Linked DNA regions of Homo sapiens: regions 1, 2, 4, 5 and 6 are each linked to region 3. Evidence: promoter capture Hi-C in 16 types of primary human blood cells and fetal thymus (Javierre and others, 2016). All regions are on one chromosome and are shown on one strand. Each heading gives the region's core, a stretch centred on a gene start or on the middle of the fragment in contact. The rest is flanking DNA. Distances are from core to core; before and after follow the strand shown. Region 1 holds the start of SPAG5 (sperm associated antigen 5). Region 2 has its middle 20 kb from the start of LINC01992. Region 3 holds the start of TMEM97 (transmembrane protein 97). Region 4 overlaps LOC105371709 (a long non-coding RNA gene). Region 5 overlaps LINC01992 (long intergenic non-protein coding RNA 1992). Region 6 has its middle 34 kb from the start of NOS2.

Evidence for each region. Contacts are between HindIII fragments. The CHiCAGO score rates a contact against its expected background, and 5 or more counts as called.
Region 1: a contact is called between the fragment with the promoter of SPAG5 here and the fragment with the promoter of TMEM97 in region 3, in 2 of 17 cell types (fetal thymus and activated CD4 T cells). The highest score is 5.5, in fetal thymus.
Region 2: a fragment that was not itself captured here is called in contact with the fragment with the promoter of TMEM97 in region 3 in 1 of 17 cell types (M2 macrophages); the score reaches 5.4 in M2 macrophages.
Region 4: a fragment that was not itself captured here is called in contact with the fragment with the promoter of TMEM97 in region 3 in 1 of 17 cell types (fetal thymus); the score reaches 6.9 in fetal thymus.
Region 5: a contact is called between a fragment that was not itself captured here and the fragment with the promoter of TMEM97 in region 3, in 1 of 17 cell types (M1 macrophages). The highest score is 5.4, in M1 macrophages.
Region 6: a fragment that was not itself captured here is called in contact with the fragment with the promoter of TMEM97 in region 3 in 1 of 17 cell types (M2 macrophages); the score reaches 5.4 in M2 macrophages.

What each region holds. Positions count from the first base shown.
Region 1 is chr17:28,597,683-28,600,382 of GRCh38, reverse strand. SPAG5 (sperm associated antigen 5) reads left to right here and starts at 1,358. Exons shown (of 24, transcript NM_006461.4): 1 at 1,358-1,487; 2 at 1,748-1,873. The coding sequence starts at 1,437. It overlaps SPAG5-AS1 (SPAG5 antisense RNA 1), which reads right to left and starts at 1,250. Exons shown (of 3, transcript NR_040012.1): 1 at 1,137-1,250; 2 at 528-685. RefSeq lists enhancers at 848-927, 1,152-1,696 and a silencer at 1,138-1,447. The HindIII fragment of the contact is 7,511 bases long and covers 1-2,700 here.
Region 2 is chr17:28,010,156-28,012,855 of GRCh38, reverse strand. No RefSeq gene overlaps it. Among named protein-coding and RNA genes, the nearest start is that of LINC01992, 20 kb to the right of the region's middle. The HindIII fragment of the contact is 4,914 bases long and covers 1-2,700 here.
Region 3 is chr17:28,317,925-28,320,624 of GRCh38, reverse strand. It overlaps TMEM97 (transmembrane protein 97), which reads right to left and starts at 1,425. Exons shown (of 3, transcript NM_014573.3): 1 at 1,260-1,425. The coding sequence starts at 1,385. RefSeq lists enhancers at 1,302-1,361, 1,842-2,101, 2,321-2,700. The HindIII fragment of the contact is 1,585 bases long and covers 913-2,497 here.
Region 4 is chr17:28,038,138-28,040,837 of GRCh38, reverse strand. All of the region lies in intron 2 of LOC105371709 (a long non-coding RNA gene), which reads left to right. Among named protein-coding and RNA genes, the nearest start is that of NLK, 3.2 kb to the left of the region's middle. The HindIII fragment of the contact is 1,495 bases long and covers 510-2,004 here.
Region 5 is chr17:27,930,484-27,933,183 of GRCh38, reverse strand. It overlaps LINC01992 (long intergenic non-protein coding RNA 1992), which reads left to right. Exons shown (of 5, transcript NR_146896.1): 3 at 1,491-1,647; 4 at 2,459-2,577. Among named protein-coding and RNA genes, the nearest start is that of LYRM9, 38 kb to the right of the region's middle. The HindIII fragment of the contact is 3,848 bases long and covers 1-2,700 here.
Region 6 is chr17:27,833,532-27,836,231 of GRCh38, reverse strand. No RefSeq gene overlaps it. Among named protein-coding and RNA genes, the nearest start is that of NOS2, 34 kb to the right of the region's middle. The HindIII fragment of the contact is 1,296 bases long and covers 687-1,982 here.

The DNA.
Region 1 (2,700 bases), core at 109-2,608, 280 kb before region 3:
TCTCGAACTCCTGACCTCAGGTGATCCGCCTGCCTCGGCCTCCCGAAGTGCGGGATTATAGGCGTGAGCCACCGTGCCCGGCCCAAATTTTTTTTTTGTAGACATAGGTCTCACTATATTGCCGAGGCAGGTCTCGAACTCCTGGGCTTAAAGGATCCTCCTGCCTCTGTCTCCTCCGTGCTGGGATTACAGGCATGAGCCACCGCACCTGGCGATATTTTGCATTCTTTTTTTCATACGACGTGTTTGAAATCCAGTTTGTACAGTGTTTTACATTTATAGCACATTCCCACTGGGACTAGTCACATCTGAAGTGCTCAAAAGCCACTATGGCTAGGGCTAACGTACTGGACAACACAATGCTAGAGGAGCCCGTCCCTGAGGACGCTGCAGTTTATAACATCATAGTTCCTCCTCTTTGGACTGCTGCTTTCCCCCTATGTATTAAGACTTGCAGAGTGTAAACAGGGCGCCGTGAGTGTGCAAAGCACACACACCTTCGCAAACGGCTCACTCTGAATACTGACCTTTCGGCTGTCCTACCTTCAACAGGTTTCCCGTGCATAGGAGATCCAAGACAGCAGAAGGCAGGAGCTGGCGGGACAGGGAGGAAGAGCGGCTCTGCCGTTTACTATCTGTGTGACGCTGAGCAAATTACACACGGTCTCTCTGACTCAGCTCCTTCCTGTCACAAATGGGGATATTTATAGTATTTCTCACTACGTAGGTCCTTATGCGCATTAAATGAGCTACTACACGGCATTCGGCATAGCGCCAGGCACACACTCAATGTTCAATACATGTAGGCGGTTAGCCCAGTAAACTGGTAGCCGGCCTGAGTAAGTCCCAGGAAAAGCCCAGAAACTCTGGAGACATTACAGCCCAGGTCGAGAACCACGGCCCGGGCCGTCCCGGACGCGGGCCCACCAAGCCTAGGGAAGCCGCTCGGCACCGCTTCGGCTTCTAGACTCCCTGGCCGGCTCTTTCCCGTCAAGGCTGCGGCTGGAGAGGACTGAGGGAGACCTAGGGAGAGGATTCCTCTTCTCCATCCACGGAGACAACTTGGATATGAACACCATGGATGTGAGGAGGTCCGCTGGAAGCAGGAGGGATGGACTCCTGGACTCTCCAGCTACCTGCGTGGTCCTCCCCGGTGTGAGGACAGAAGACCGGTCCTGGGCCGGGCCCGCATCCAGCCCTACCGCCGGTGTCTGAGGTGAGGGCTCCGTCAGCGGAAAACGCTCGACAACGGAGGGGCAGGCAGGGCCGGGGGCGTGGTCAACGCGGGCCCCGCCCCCCGGGCTCTACCCCCGAGCGTACGCGCGCGCCTGAAGCAGCCAACCAGGAAGCGCAGAGCAGGTTCAAACACAGACGGCGGGTGAACATGGCGTCCTCGACTTGGTCTGAGACGTGATAGGCCTGCCTTCTGGTTGAAGATGTGGCGAGTGAAAAAACTGAGCCTCAGCCTGTCGCCTTCGCCCCAGACGGTAAGCGGGAGATCTCTGGCGGAGAGAACTGGGCCGGGCTGCTGTCGCGGGGGCACCGGCCGTGTCTACTGTCCTGGAAAGTTGGGTCGAGCCCGGGGTTGGGGGCTTGTGGAGTCTTTGTTCGCCTTGCTGCTCCTGCGCGACTAGGGTGCGAGCGTACTCTTCTAATCGCATTTTGGGCTTCTTAGGGAGGGAGGAGGGGCGGGCTGGCAGAACCCAGGCTTCCTCACACTCGCCCTCTTTCTTGGTTTCTTTCTCAGGGAAAACCATCTATGAGAACTCCTCTCCGTGAACTTACCCTGCAGCCCGGTGCCCTCACCAACTCTGGAAAAAGATCCCCCGCTTGCTCCTCGCTGACCCCATCACTGTGCAAGCTGGGGCTGCAGGTGAGATTCGCCTGGACAGCTTCTCGACTGGGCTGTTTGCCCAGGGTGAGAGCTCAGGGGAACAGAGGGCCAGGGCTACAATAATTAATAACGATAATGAAGTCTTCTACGTCGGTGACATCCATTTACAGCTATTCAGGCCAACAGAGAGGTGCCCTAGGGTGGTTAAAGGAAATCCAGTGAGAACTTGAATCTCTGTTTAGCTGTTAGTTTTTATTACCTCCTCCTCCTCCCTTCGACCTTTATCAAACTATTGAGAAATCCTACCACCCTGATTAGTGCTCTTCCTCCAACATGGGGTCACTTACGGAAAGGTCAGTCACCTGCAAGATTGAGGCAATATCCATTTACTCTAGGAGGTAGTTAGAACTCTCCTGGGATCAAGTTACACCACTGGAAGGTAGGGTACTTGAATCACCTTAGTTTAAACTAGCTCCTTGCAGAATTGCCCTCACTGATTTGTACTTTTGTTAAACGTTTTGAGAGACGTAGCCATGTAGAAACTGCATTTCAGTTGCTGTCAAAACTTGTCAAGGAAGCAGCTTGACTCCTGTATAAGATTCCTCCAAGAAAGGCTTTAGGACTAACTGCCTGGAAAAATTGTCTTCCTGAAGAAATTGCTATCCTTTTCTTTCTGATAATGAGAACTATGTAGTTTACCATATTTTCCCTCTTGCTCTGCCTTCTAGAAAGCTCAAGGCCAAACTGGATCATCACATACAGCTACTGTTATAGCTGTATAGGAAGTTTTGCTTCCTCTTTTTTGACCATGACTTTGTTATTTCATTAATCGTATCTATTCATTTTCATGCATATGAATTATTTTT
Region 2 (2,700 bases), core at 174-2,673, 310 kb after region 3:
TCTCACCCACCAGAGAGTGGGAAAGAAGAGAACTGGTGGAAGTAGGAGCTGCAAGGCAAAAAGAATATTTGTCACTTGCAGACTGATTCTGCCCCTCTACTACTTCTTTGCAACAGGAAAGATGGACACTACAGGGATTTAGAAGTGAAGAAAAGGGTGAATGATTTCACAATTTACTTTGTGGTGGTAGAGGGTAGAAATGCAGGTCGAATCCCCTTCATAAATGATCAAATCCCTCAACTCCTTGGAATCTGGGTTGATGAGATAAGCAGAGTACAATGCCAGCTTCAGATTACTCCAATTGCAGATGGCGGTGCTTGTCAATGGAGATGATCATTTTTCCATGGGAGATTTGGAAGATAAGAGGAAGAGGAACCAGTATTACTATTAAAATTCTAACAGCATTGAGTTGGCCATTTGATTCTTTGGGTTTGGACAACAGTAAGATATGAGTGGTTTTCAGCAGTGGAAATTTAAATCTGTCAGTGTGTCAGTAAGTTGCTTTAGAGCAATCTACCAGAGCCTGTTGGTGACAGTAAGAAATGGTTCTGTCCCACCTTTCTCCCTCAGTTTCTCTCCCTAAAAGCAAAGACCACACTAAGAGGTTCACCCTGAGAGGTGGCCAAATCAACATAGCATGGTGACTAAGCATGGTGCTTTGGAATTGCAGCTTCCAAAATGGAACTTATTTCTTTGGCAGACATAGCCAGATGTGGCCTACAGAAATATTTTGTGTGGCCCACATATTTTTTTAACTTTCATCTGAGCCAATATTTAGAAATCCCAGTATCTGCTCTCTCTTCTCTGTCTATGCCTCTCTCTCTCTCTCCACCTCCCTCTCCTTGTCTCCTTCTCTATCTCTCATATCGGAAGCTCTGGTAATACTGATCCTGCATTTCTGCATGGCAGGGATAGACTGAAACTGAGAAGTAGCATCTCTCTTGGGCAGTTCACCATAGTTCCCACCACCCACACAGCACATGGATGTACTTTTATACCCAAGGCCATTTGATCTCGGACCTCCTTTGGTGTGCAGGAAGCTATTGACATGTCCCAGACCACTCAAAACCCAAAGAAGGAAGCATCAGATGTCTAACCAGAAAAGTCTAACGAGAACCCCCAAGTGCAAACTCCCTTTAGTTGTAATGGGCAAAACACATGAGACATTCCTGTAGATAGTCCTCCTGGAAGATGTGCCATATGATGAAGAAAGCAGTGGCTTCTCTGTAATAATGCAGAAGTGATTAACATTGATCCCTGAGCAAACAGTTATCTCTTATGCCCCAATAAGCTCATTTCTAGGATAACCAAACACTCCTAATGCAGTTGTTCTCCACTGAGGTGAGTGCACTGAGGTTGAGAAAGTGTCCTTGGTACTGACACATGCCACCACTGCTTCTGATTGACAATCACTCTGTTCTAACCAGTCTGAGTCTGTGTGATCACTTTTTTTTTTTGCTTTGAGACAGAGTTTCACTCTTGTTGCCCAGGCTGGAGTGCAATGGCGCATGTGTGATCACTTCTATGGTAACTATAGCTCCTCCTTCAGAACTATGTCTTGGCTCTGAATCCCTGGGGATTATGTTACAACTAAAGGGAGAAGGAGGAACCCTGAGGATTATAAATGTTGCCAAGGGCAGTGGTGGTTCCTAAATCTATCTATGCATCAGAATCACTTAGACATTTTTTAATGTTCATGTTCCTGGGCTTGATTACACTCCTGCTGTGTTAGTCCATTTGTATAGCTATAAAGGAGTATCTGAGGCTGGATAATTTATAAAGAAAAGAGGTTTCATTGATTCATGGTTCTGCAGGCTTTACAGGAAGCACACTGCCAGAATCTGCTTCTGGTGAGGGCCTCAGGAAACTTCCAATTATGATGGAAGAAAAAGGGGAAGCAGGTGCATCGCATGGCGAAAGCAGGAGCAAGAAAGAGAGAGGGAAGAGGTGTCACACTCTTTTAAACAACCAGCTCTCACATGAACTCAGCGAGAACTCACTTATCACCAAGGGGATGATACTTCATTTATGAGGGATCTGCCTCCATGATCCAATCACCTCCCACTAGGCCCTGTGAACATTGGGAATCACGTTTCAACATGAGACTAGGAGGGGACAAACATCCAAAACATATCAGCTACTGGATTATACTCTTTGGGAATGGAATCCAGCTCTTTGCGTTCTTCACATGCCCACCAGATGATTCTAATGCAGCTGTCCTAGCACCAGCCTGTGCCTCTAAGACAACTTTAGAGAGGCATTGGTTCACAGATGTGGAGGATTCTCTGGAACCTCCCACATTCATTCTGGAATCAGCAACTTCATGCCCCACACTCAATCCCTATCATGCCATCAGAGCCTTTTGTCCTACTGGAGTTTCTGATGTCACAGACAGTGGCTTAACACTATAGTCTGGTGTCAAAACTGACCTGAGCATAAATCTTTCCTCTGCCACTTGCAAACTGAGTGGTCTTAAGTAAGTTGTGACCCCTCCTCAAACTTCAGCTTCTCATCTGTGAAACAGTGATAGTAACACCTACCTCCCAGAGTTGCTGTGACAACTCCTTGAGATAGCATGTGTAAAGATTTGCAACTCGAGATTTGTGTACATGATTGTTATATGGTAAATCCTGGCTCATTTTCTTGCCTTCCAGAAGTAGGGTCAGTTCAGTACTCGTAGGAACTCTTTTTTTTTTTTTT
Region 3 (2,700 bases), core at 176-2,675:
ATGAAAACTAACCCACCCTGTATATGTTTGAGCTTATAATTTAACTCAACTCTCTCAACAGTTGAGGAGGATATAGAGCCCTGACCTGCCCAAGTCACCTCCAGTTCTTGGAAGAACCAAGTCCCCAGACTGCAACTTGCTACACGCTACCTACGCTTTTCCCATGCAAAAGGAGGTCAGAGGTCTTCCAGTTGTGTTTGGTTCTAGAAGCAAACAAAAAAGAGTGACTTATGGGAGTGGTAGAACATTCTTGAGCCGTGGCCTTTTTGGGAGAGTTAGGCCCCTTGAAAAGTCGATGGAAGCTATATTCTCCTTGCAGGAAACAAAAGGCACACACACTTGCACCCATTTTTGGGAGTTCATGACCCTCAGGTAAAGAACCCCTCCTCGGCAGATAAAAAGCATTTAAGGAAAAACAGACGCAAAATAAAATCTTCGGGTAGACAAGTCAGTCCTGCCTACAGTTATAGATAAGATGGAGAAACAAAACTGAGGACAGGAATTCCATGGAAGAAGGTCACAGGGTCCAGATACGAGAAAAAAACCTCAACGAACCGGGAAACTAAAACTATAGCTTTGAAGAAAAAAACAAAGCATTAAAGCAGAGTTTGGGGTTGAAAGAATGCTCTCCAACAACCAGGAAATCGGGATTTTCACCTTTATTTTTACTCAGGAGATCATTGTTACTCGAACCCAATATTGAAGAGCCAATCTGAAAAGATGGCAATTTACTCCTGAGCTCTGGAAGTTGCTGGAACCTGATCTCGAAGCAGTGACGATCTGTGAACGCCCCAGCTGCACCAACCAAGGTGCTAAACCTTCAGACAGGTCTATTTCTACTCGGATTTTTTCTTTGGGATCAGACTGGTATTTTAAAGCCCTTCCAAACAAACAAACAAAAAACCAGAAGCTTAAAGCAAACCTAACATGTGACTTTGGACACCACTTCATCCAGACTACTTCCCTCAGACACTGACAACCGGCCAGAGGTGGAATCGCGGGAAACCTTAAACCCAGGGAAGAAGTGACTTTAAAGGAAACAAAGCGTTCGCCCCCGCCGCTTGGGAGAAGGGGCTGGGATAGAGACAAAGCCCGAGGAAAACACCGAACTAAAGTTGGGTTAGGAGCGGGGGAGGCATGGGCAGGACCCGAGAGAGGCAACTGGAACCCAGAGTGCGCGAGCGCGGAGGAGGTGAAGGCCCTGTGGACGCAGCGCCGGGAGAGCCTCAGCGGGCCGGGATAAGAGGGGCGCCCCTCACCTCGACTGGGTAGAGCTCGCGCGGCAGCACCGCCTGCAGGTCCATGAACAGGGTGATGGGGATGTGGCTGAGGAAGTAGAGGCCCAGCAGCCACTCCACGCAGCGCCTGGTTGCCGGAGCCCCCATAGTCTGTCGGTTGGGCCTGGACCCGCTGATGTGAGAAGAGGGGCCAAATCCGCGCGCCTTCCCAGACCCACGCGCCTCGGTCGCCGCCTTGCCCCCGCGAGGGCTAGGCAGACCGCTTCCATTGGCTGGCGAGAAGAGGAGGCTCGTGGACAGGGGGCGGCACTCCCCACAGGGCGCACCCATTGGTCCGTATAAGTATAGCGCGTGGAGAAGGCGTCTCGTAAGCCATTTCCATTGGCCGCCAGGAGCGCCGTGTGGGCGGGGCTTAGTCACGCCGTTCGGCGCGCGGCTACTCAGTGTAGATTGCGGTTGTGAGCGCGAGCCTAGCGTTTCGGTGCTGGCCGCGTGGTATCCTGGTGTCCCGGCAGCTGCCGGCGGCGCTCCCTTCCCTCGTGGCTCCGTTCGCCACTACAACAGCAGTATGAAAACTGCACTGGCCCTTGGGCCTTCTGCAGTAAGTCAGCATTAAAAAAATAAAGCTGACGCTGTGCACGGTGGGTCATGCCTGTAATGTCTGCACTTTGGGAGCCCGAGGCAGGAGGATGGCTTGAGCCCAGAAGACCAGCCTGGGTAACTTAGTAAGACATTATCTCTACAAAAAATAAAAAATTAGCCAGGTGTGGTGGTGTGCACCTGTAGTCCTAGCTAGTTCGTGTACTAGTGACCAGCGCCTGTGCTGGGCCGCGGTACCCCGGTGCAGTGCGGCCGTCACGGAGCAGGGGTCGCAGAGCGGGGCACGAGCGCCGCGGTGCAGGTTCCCGGCCCAGCCGGGGTTGCGGGTCTGGGGAGGCAGCTGGCCGCGGTGAACAAAGAAGCAGAGGGGAGGACTCGAGGGACGTAGGAGGCAGTAAAATGGACAGGAATCCTCACCGGCTGTGGAGCATGAGGGAAGGTCAAGGATTCGTTTACACGTTCAGCAAATACTGATGTTCATCTCCACGCTGGGCGCAGGCCTGTCTCGGGGCAGGATCGCCGAGGCTGCCATTTGCTAAGAGGGGACACAGGGCAAGGGAGTGCGAGGAAGGAATGCAGCTTGGACTACGTGGACCTTGAGTGGGCTGCAGCGTTGGGTGGAGGAGGCAGTTGGGTGAGCCTGTCTGGAGTCGTAAGCTTGTGAGGCATCCGCCTTTGATGGCGAGCAGAGGGCCTGGGAGAGATCCTGGGGGAGCTCCAGCCTCAGGTCATGGGAGGAGGGGACTGAGATAGGAGCGTACTAGCAGGGGGCTATGTCACAGGGAGGGGCAGCCTGTCAACACTGAGTGATGCCCGCCTGTGGCCCTGTGGGGAACAGTTGTGTCGTGGGGGCAGGAGCCAG
Region 4 (2,700 bases), core at 8-2,507, 280 kb after region 3:
GGCATTCAGAACTCCACTGTCGACAAATGATAAAGCTGTTGGTGCAAATTAAAACAAAAAAAGTAAACTTGACCACAAAAATAATAATTTTCCTCTATCTTTCTTTCTTAACAGGGTCACATTCTGTCACCCAGGCTAGACTGCAGTGGCACAGTCCTAGCTCACTGCAACCTCCAACTCCCGGCTCAAGCAATCTTCCCGCCTCAGCTTCCCGAGTAGCTGGGATTACAGATGTGCATCACCATGCCCGGCTGATTCTTTAATTTTTTAGAAACAGGGTCTTAATATGTTGCCCAGGTTGGTCTCAAATTCCTAGGCTCAAGAGATCCTCCCACCTCCCACCTTGGCCTCCCAAAGTGCTGAGATTACAGGCGTGAGCCACCGCCTCCAGCCTCTCCCATATTTTCTATCAAGTAAGTTTCTGTCATTGAAATCTTACTAAAATAGCATCTTTCCATCACTTCATTTATCTGAATTTACCCTTCCTTTAAAATGTGAAATAATAAGCTTACAGAACCTTATCCCTACTGAAACTGTATAGTTTACTCAAAAACTTGGAAGTCATCTTCGATCCCTCCTTTGCCTGTCCACATTGTCCCTTCCAATCTATCAGTCATCAAGTCTTCTTTTTTTTTTTTTTTTTTTTGAGACATGGTCTCTGTTGCCCAGGCTGGAGTGCAGTGGCATGATTACAGCCCACTGCAGCCTCCACCTCTTGGGCTCAGATGATCCTCCCACCTCAGCCTCCCAAGTAGGTGGGACTACAGGCACATGCCACCACACCTGGCTAATTTTTGTATTTTTTTGTAGAGATGGGGTTTTGCCATGTTGCCCAGGCTGAATCATCAAGTCTTAAACAATTTTAAATCCCCCTCACTTCTGCTACTTCCCAGTCACACAGCATTTACCCAAATTTACACCACTAACATCTTTAACCATTTCCCTGCCTGCAAGCTAGCTCTCCTTTGATCCATCCCCCTCTGGGGGCATAGTAAATTTTTAAAAATACAAATCTGAGACCAGGGGCAGTGGCTCACACCTGTAATCCCAGCACTTGGTGAGGCCAAGGTACGTGGATCCCTTGAGTTCAGAAGATCAGTCTGGGCAATGTGGCAAAACCCCGTGTCTACAAAAAATACAAAAATTAGTGGTACACATGTCTCTAGACCCAGCTACTGAAGAGGCTGAGGTGGGAGGATAGCTTGAGCCAGGGAGGTAGATGCTGTAGTGAGCTGAGATCCCACCAGTGCACTCCAGCCTGGGTGACAGTGAGATCCTGTCAAAAAAAAAAAAAGGCTGGCTGTACCCCTAAATAGCCTGGCATGATCTGGTTCCTGCCTACCTACCTCAAGGGTCTTATCTCTCCCTTCCACTCCACACTTCAGACATTCTGAACTTCCTGCAGCTCCTTGAATGCTTTCAAGCCTTCATGTATATCTTCAGCCCAAAACATTTCCCGCTCATCCTTCACTGCTCTAATTCATCCCTCAGGTCTTCGTGTAAATTTTACTTTTTTTCCTGGAAAGTTCTAACTCTGTTCTAGAGTATACGTTTCTGTTGTATATCTCCATGACACTGCCTCCCTCATATCGATATTTTAAGTGCTTGTTGAGTTTGACCGGGGACAGAGAGCTTGTCTGTCTCACTCAATGTTGTATGCCCAGTTCCTTAGGACAGTGCCTGAAAAAAAAGAAGACACTTGCTACAGATTTGCCTGAATTACTGAGTGCAGAAGTGGGTACAAACCCAAGCTCTGCCATTTACTTACTCTATAGTTTAGGCAACTTAACTAACCTTTCTCAATCTCAGTTGCCTCAACTGAAATAATACATGACTCATGAGGTCTATATGAGGGTTAAATGAGGTGATGTATTTAAACGTGCTTGGCAAATAGTGAAAATGCAATATAAATTCTCTTCAACACTCACCCTCATGTAATATTTGAGATGTTTCCAATTTTCCAATGCACAGCACTCTCCTCCAAAGTGTAGTTTCCTAAAAGCTTCTTAGATGTTCAGCAAATTATCTGGTTTCACCTCAGACCTACTGAATAAGAATTGGAGGAGGAGAGGAGGAATCTGTTTAACAAGCTCTCCAGGTCATTCTTACAAACGCTAGAGCTTAAGAAGCACAGGCCTAGAGTAAAGGAGCTTAGTCTTTGTAAACTTTCTTTTTCAGCGCTTAGTATAGTACTATAATAATACATAGAAAGTGCTTGATACATGTGAAATAAATAAATTAATCTAATCCACGAGAAAACAATTGTACATTAAGAGTTATTTATTCCTTCCACAAACATGTATTAAGCACCAATTATATCTAGGCATGGTGCTAACTTCAACTGTGGGGGAGAGGAGATAGATGTACAGATGCTTCTGGACTCATGATGAGTTTGTGTCCCTTCTTTTTTTCTTTTTGAGACGGAGTCTCGCTCTGTCGCTCAGGCTGGAGTGCAGTGGCGCAATCTCGGCTCACTGCAAGCTTCGCCTCCCAGGTTCATGCCATTCTCCTGCCTCAGCCTCCTGAGTAGCTGGGACTACAGGCGCCCGCCACCACGCCCAGCTAATTTTTTGTATTTTTAGTAGAGATGGGGTTTCACCATGTTAGCCGGGATGGTCTCGATTTCCTGACCTTGTGATCCGCCCGCCTCGACCTCCCAAAGTACTGGGATTACAGGCGTGAGCTACCGCGCCTGGCCGA
Region 5 (2,700 bases), core at 115-2,614, 390 kb after region 3:
GTATGTATAACAATAGATGTCCATTATCTTGGCCATTCCTTTTTGATCTCTTTCCTATGTCTACCTCCTATATCCTGGTGTTCACCGTGTATATTAGTTGGGATTGGGTATAGCAAAGAATAACCAAAAAAAAAAAAAAAAAAAAAAAAAAGCAACATTGACTTGAACAAGATAATTGTTTAGCTGTCATACAAATGTCCAGATATTTGCAGTCCAGAGCTGGTATGGCATCTCCACTTCAGGAAGTCCTCAGGATCACAGGTCTTTCTCTAGTTTGGATGTTGTACCCTCCAAATCTCATATTGAAATTTGATCCCAAGTGGTGGAGATAGGACCTAATTGGAGGTGTTTGGGTCAGGGGGGTGGATCACTTATGAATAGATTAATGCCTTCCCTGGAGGGTAGGGAGACTGAATGAGTTCTCACTCTATTAGCTTCCATGAGAGCTGGTTGATAGAAAGCCTGGCTCCTCCCCTACCTCCCCCTCTAGCTTCCTCTCTTCCCATGTGGTCTCTGCACGTGCTGTCTCTCCTACACCTTCTGACATGAGTGGAAGCAGCCTGAGGCTTTCACCAGATGCCCAGTCTCCCAGAGAGCAGAATTATAAGCCAAATGATTTTTTCTTTATAAATTCCCAGTATCAGCTATACATTTATAGCAACACAAATGGACTAAGACAGTCCTCTTCCAATTAACTGCCCTACAATTCCTTGGGAATGATCCTCATCCTTGTGAATCAAGGCAACATCCAAGTTCCAGGGAGCAAGATGGAAGAAAGACAGAGAAAAAGAGTAAATAAAGGGCATAAACTACCTCATAAGGGAATTTTCAGGAAGGTGACACTAACATCCCTTTAGCCTGAACATGGTCATACCTAGCTGCAAGGAAGCCTGGGAAGTGTAGTCTTTACTCTGAAGCCCATGTGCTCAGTTAAAAATTCTATTACTATGGGAGAAGGAAAAAAATGGACATAAGGTGGCAAAAAGAAATCATTGCTACTCCAGGGATCATCCTAGGCCCACTGGTTCTTAGTGTGCTCTTTCTTGTTGATCTGATTCACACTCAGGGTTTCCATTTTTACTTGTGTGTTAATGACTTCTGATTGCCTCTCTTGAGCTTGGATATCTCCCTGAACTCAGATTCATATATCCAAGTGTTTATTGAACGCCAGGGTATTATCAGGCACCTAAACTCAACATGACCCAAACTGGCATCTTTCCCACCAAAATTAGGTCCTTCAGCTTAAAATATCTGATCACCATTAAGTGTAGGCTATAGACCACCCCAGAGTTTTTGGTGGAGGGAAATTATGATACAGTCATAGTGAAGAGGCTGGTGTGTTAGAATTGGCCAGACCTGTGTTCAAATCTGGTTCTGCTTCTCATTCGCTATGAGAATTGAGGTGAATTCCTGTAGTAGTTTGCTATGGCAATGGTAATAAAGTCTCACAAACTAGATGACTTAAACAATAGAAATTTATTGTTTTACAGTTCCAGTGGCTAGAATTCCAAGATCAAGGTGTCAGCAGCATGGTTCTTTCTGAGAGCTGTGAAGAAGAATCCGTTCCATGCCTCTCCCCCAGTTTCTGGTGGTGTGCTGGCAGTCTTTGGCATTCTTTGGCCTGCAGACGCATCACCCTAATCTCAGGTATCATATTCCCTGTGTGCATGTGTCCTTGTGTGTGAATGTCTGCTTTTTATAAGGAGACTAGTCATATTGAATTAATGCCCATCCTAATAACATCATTTTAACTTGATTACCTCTATAAAGACCTTACCTTCATTTTGAGATACTGGGATTAGGACTTTAACATAGGAATTTTGGGGAGACCCAATTCAACCCATAACAATTACTTAACCTATCCTTGGAGGATAATAAGACAAAACATAATAAGAATGCTGAGAATGAGGTTGGGTGCAGTGGTTCACACCTGTAATTCCCGCACTTTGGGAGGCCAAGATGGGAGGATCACTTGATACCAGGAGTTTGAGACCAACCTGGGCATTATAGCAAGATCCTACCTCTTAAAAAAAAAGAAAAAGAAAATTAGCTGGGCATGATGGTGCATGCCTGTAGTCCCAGCTACTTGGAGGTGAGGTGGGAGGATCATTTGATTCCAGGAGTTCAAGGCTGCAGTGAGTTATGATCATGCCACCATGCTCCAGCCTGAGCAACAGAGTGAGACCCTGACACTAAAACCACCAAAACCAACCAACCAAACAAACAAAAAAAGAATGCTGATAATGAGATCCATATTGCAGAGTTATTGTAAAGATTATGATATTGTAAGTGAATCTTCCAGGCACAAAGTTGGTGTTTAATAAATGCCAGTTTCCTTCTGTCTGACTGTAGACTTAACTGTAATTTTGAGGCTCCTGGAGGAAAAAGAAAATGTTTCAGGGATGGTACAAAACTAGAAGATGAAACTATAGTGAACATTTATTATTCTCTTTGGTAGCCCAGCTCCGGAACGCCTTTCCCATGTTTGGTGTGTTTTCTACCTAATGAGTTTTGATGGAAGTGAAGGCTGTTATTTACCTCTGGAAGCTAAAAATACCAGCTCCCTGGTCATCTCAGGTCAGTCCCAGGGGGACTCGGAGTCTCTCTGTGTAGTCTTCAAGTCTGGTTTTCTAGCCCCCCGCTCCTCCAGAGATTCTGTGAACTATAAATATCCTTAAATAACTTTCTCTCCTGCTTAAA
Region 6 (2,700 bases), core at 85-2,584, 480 kb after region 3:
GTATCCCCAATCAAACCAAATACTCTAAGAAAGCAGGGCCCAGGGCCTTGCCAAAGCAAAGTCAGTTGTCCTGCCAAAGCAGAACCCAGTGTCCAAAGAAAAAAATACCTTGGGGCTGTTGCCCACAAACCTACCACTTACGAAGGACATCTTCCAAGCCCAGTGCCTTATTTTTAATGCTACAAAAGTAAAAATGCCATGGCCCATGACACCTGGTCAAGCATAAAATGCATGGATCCATCCCTGAGCAAAATAATTCAGCCAACTGCCGGACAGGGTCCAAGGGTGGCTGCAGCCAGGGGCTGGTGTGCCATGGGCAAGGCCACCGGTTGGGACTTTCGCCCCTTTGTAGTTGCCAACTAATTGTTACTGAATCCACTTGGGATCCACTGACCACTCACCTGGCACAGTAAGTCCAAACATCTACACCAAGGTTTGCAGTGGGAGAAAGGAGGATGTTTATTTGCGAGTGCCCAGCAAGGAGAATCCAGCAGCTCATGCTTAAGACCTGGCTTCCCCGATGGCTTGTTAAGGGTTTTTTAAGGCAGGGAGGCAGAGGTTACAGGCACAACTACATATTAATACATGGAGGCTATATATTGCTTTGACCTAAAAAGGGGGGATGTCTCAAAGCATTCAAAGATTCAAAGATTTTCTGATTTGCAATTGGTTAAGGAAGCAAAGCTTTGTCTAAAAATTTGGGGTCAGTAGAAAAGAATGTAAGCTCTGGTTTGTGGGTATGATTTCCTCCAGGTCCCTCAGGAAGAACTTCAGAAGAAAGAGGAGTGGTCAGAGTTCAATCCGCAGTTCCCCCTTATCTGAGGCCTGTGTGCTAGTGGATCCATTTGGTAGGGGTCCAGGTACCTGAAAAACAACTCAGAGAAACGTATGTTAAGACGTTATCGTTAGGGATAAAGGGATAAATATAATGTTCTACAGGGAACATCTTGTGACTCTAACTTCCTTGGTTATAGTTTTAAGCTACTATTACCTTCTTAATGATCAGGTCACTCATTTTCTTCTCAGGGCTAGCTAGGTGCCTGGAGTTTCCCTTGAAGAAACTCTTTTCCTTTATTTCCATGTTGCAGGGAGGGGCCTACAGGCTCCTATGAGGGGTCCCTGCTCTATCTCAGTCCTTGCCCTAAAGAATCTTACATAATTGTTCTTATTGCTTCTTTTTGGAGGTGGCAGGGATTATATCTCTGAATCTCACAAAAGCACTGGTGCTGCTTTTCCAATAGCACTTTGCTTTGCTTCTGAGCTGTTTCGATTTGTTTGTTGTTGGTTTTCATTATGTATTCTGGGAGCCAATGACTTGGCTGGGCACTTGAAATCCTACATTTGAACTTCTGGCAGCTCCCTGTCTGTTTTCACACAAATGGACTTGCTGGGATCAGTAGGGAGACACCTCTGGTCTTAATACCTGCAGCGTTGCAGGTCTGGGTGTGGTCATAGCCATCTTGGCATCCAAGTGCAATGCATTACTCATGTTTGTGGTGATGCTGGTGTAGACAAACCTACCGTGCTGCAGTTGTACAAAAATATCTCACAGACAGTTATGTAAGGTATATAATACTTGATAATGATAATACAATGACTATGTTACTGGTTTGTGTATTTCCTATACATATGTAAACAAATAACTATCATTTTTATTGACTATGTGAATATGACAATATACTTTTTACTGTTATTTCAGAGTATACTCCTTGTACTTATTTTTTTAAGTGAACTATAAAATAGCCTCAGGCAGGTCCTTCAGGAGGTATTCCAGAGGAAGGTATGTTATCACAGGAGATGACAGCTCCATGCACATTGTTCCCCCAAAGACCTTCCAGTGGGACAAGATGTGGAGATGGAAGGCAGTTGTGATATTGATGATCCTGACACTGTGTAGGCCTAAGCTAATGTGTGGTGTGCCTTAGTTTCTAATAAAACAGTTTAAAAAGTAAAAAAAAAAACAAGAATTAACAAGAAAAGCTTATAAGAATAGAGACAAAATATTTTTGTATAGCTGTGCAATGTATTTGTGTTTTAAGCTGTGTTATTATGAGTCAAAAAGTTTTTTAAAAATTAAAAAGTTTATAAAGTAAAAAAGTTATAGTAAGCCAAGGTTAATTTATTATTGAAGAAAGGAATTCTAAATGAATTTAGTGTCATCTAAATGTACAGTAAATCTACAGTAGTGTACAATAATGTCCTAGGCCTTCATCTTCACTCACCACTCACCTACCGATTCACTCAGAGCAACTTCCAGTCCTGCAAGCTCCATTCATGGTACGTGCCCTCTACAGGTATACCTTTGAAAAAAACTTTTGTACTGTATTTTTTTACTGTGCCTTTTCTATGTTTAGATATGCAAATGCTTACCATTGTGTTACAGTTACTTACAGTATTCAGTACAGTCACATGCTGTACAGGTTTGTAGCCTAGGAGCAATAGGCTGTACCATATAGCCAAGGTATGCTGTAGGCTATACCATCTAGGTTTATGTAAGTACACTCAATGATATTTGCACAATAATGAAATCACCTCATGATGCATTTCTCAGAACATATCTGATATGGTTTGGCTGTGTCCCCACCCAAGTCCCATCTTGAATTGTAGCTCCCGTAAGCCCCACATGTTGCGGGAGAAAACCAGTGGGAGGTAACTGAATCATGGGGTAGGTTTTTTCCATGCTGTTCCCCTTATAGTGAA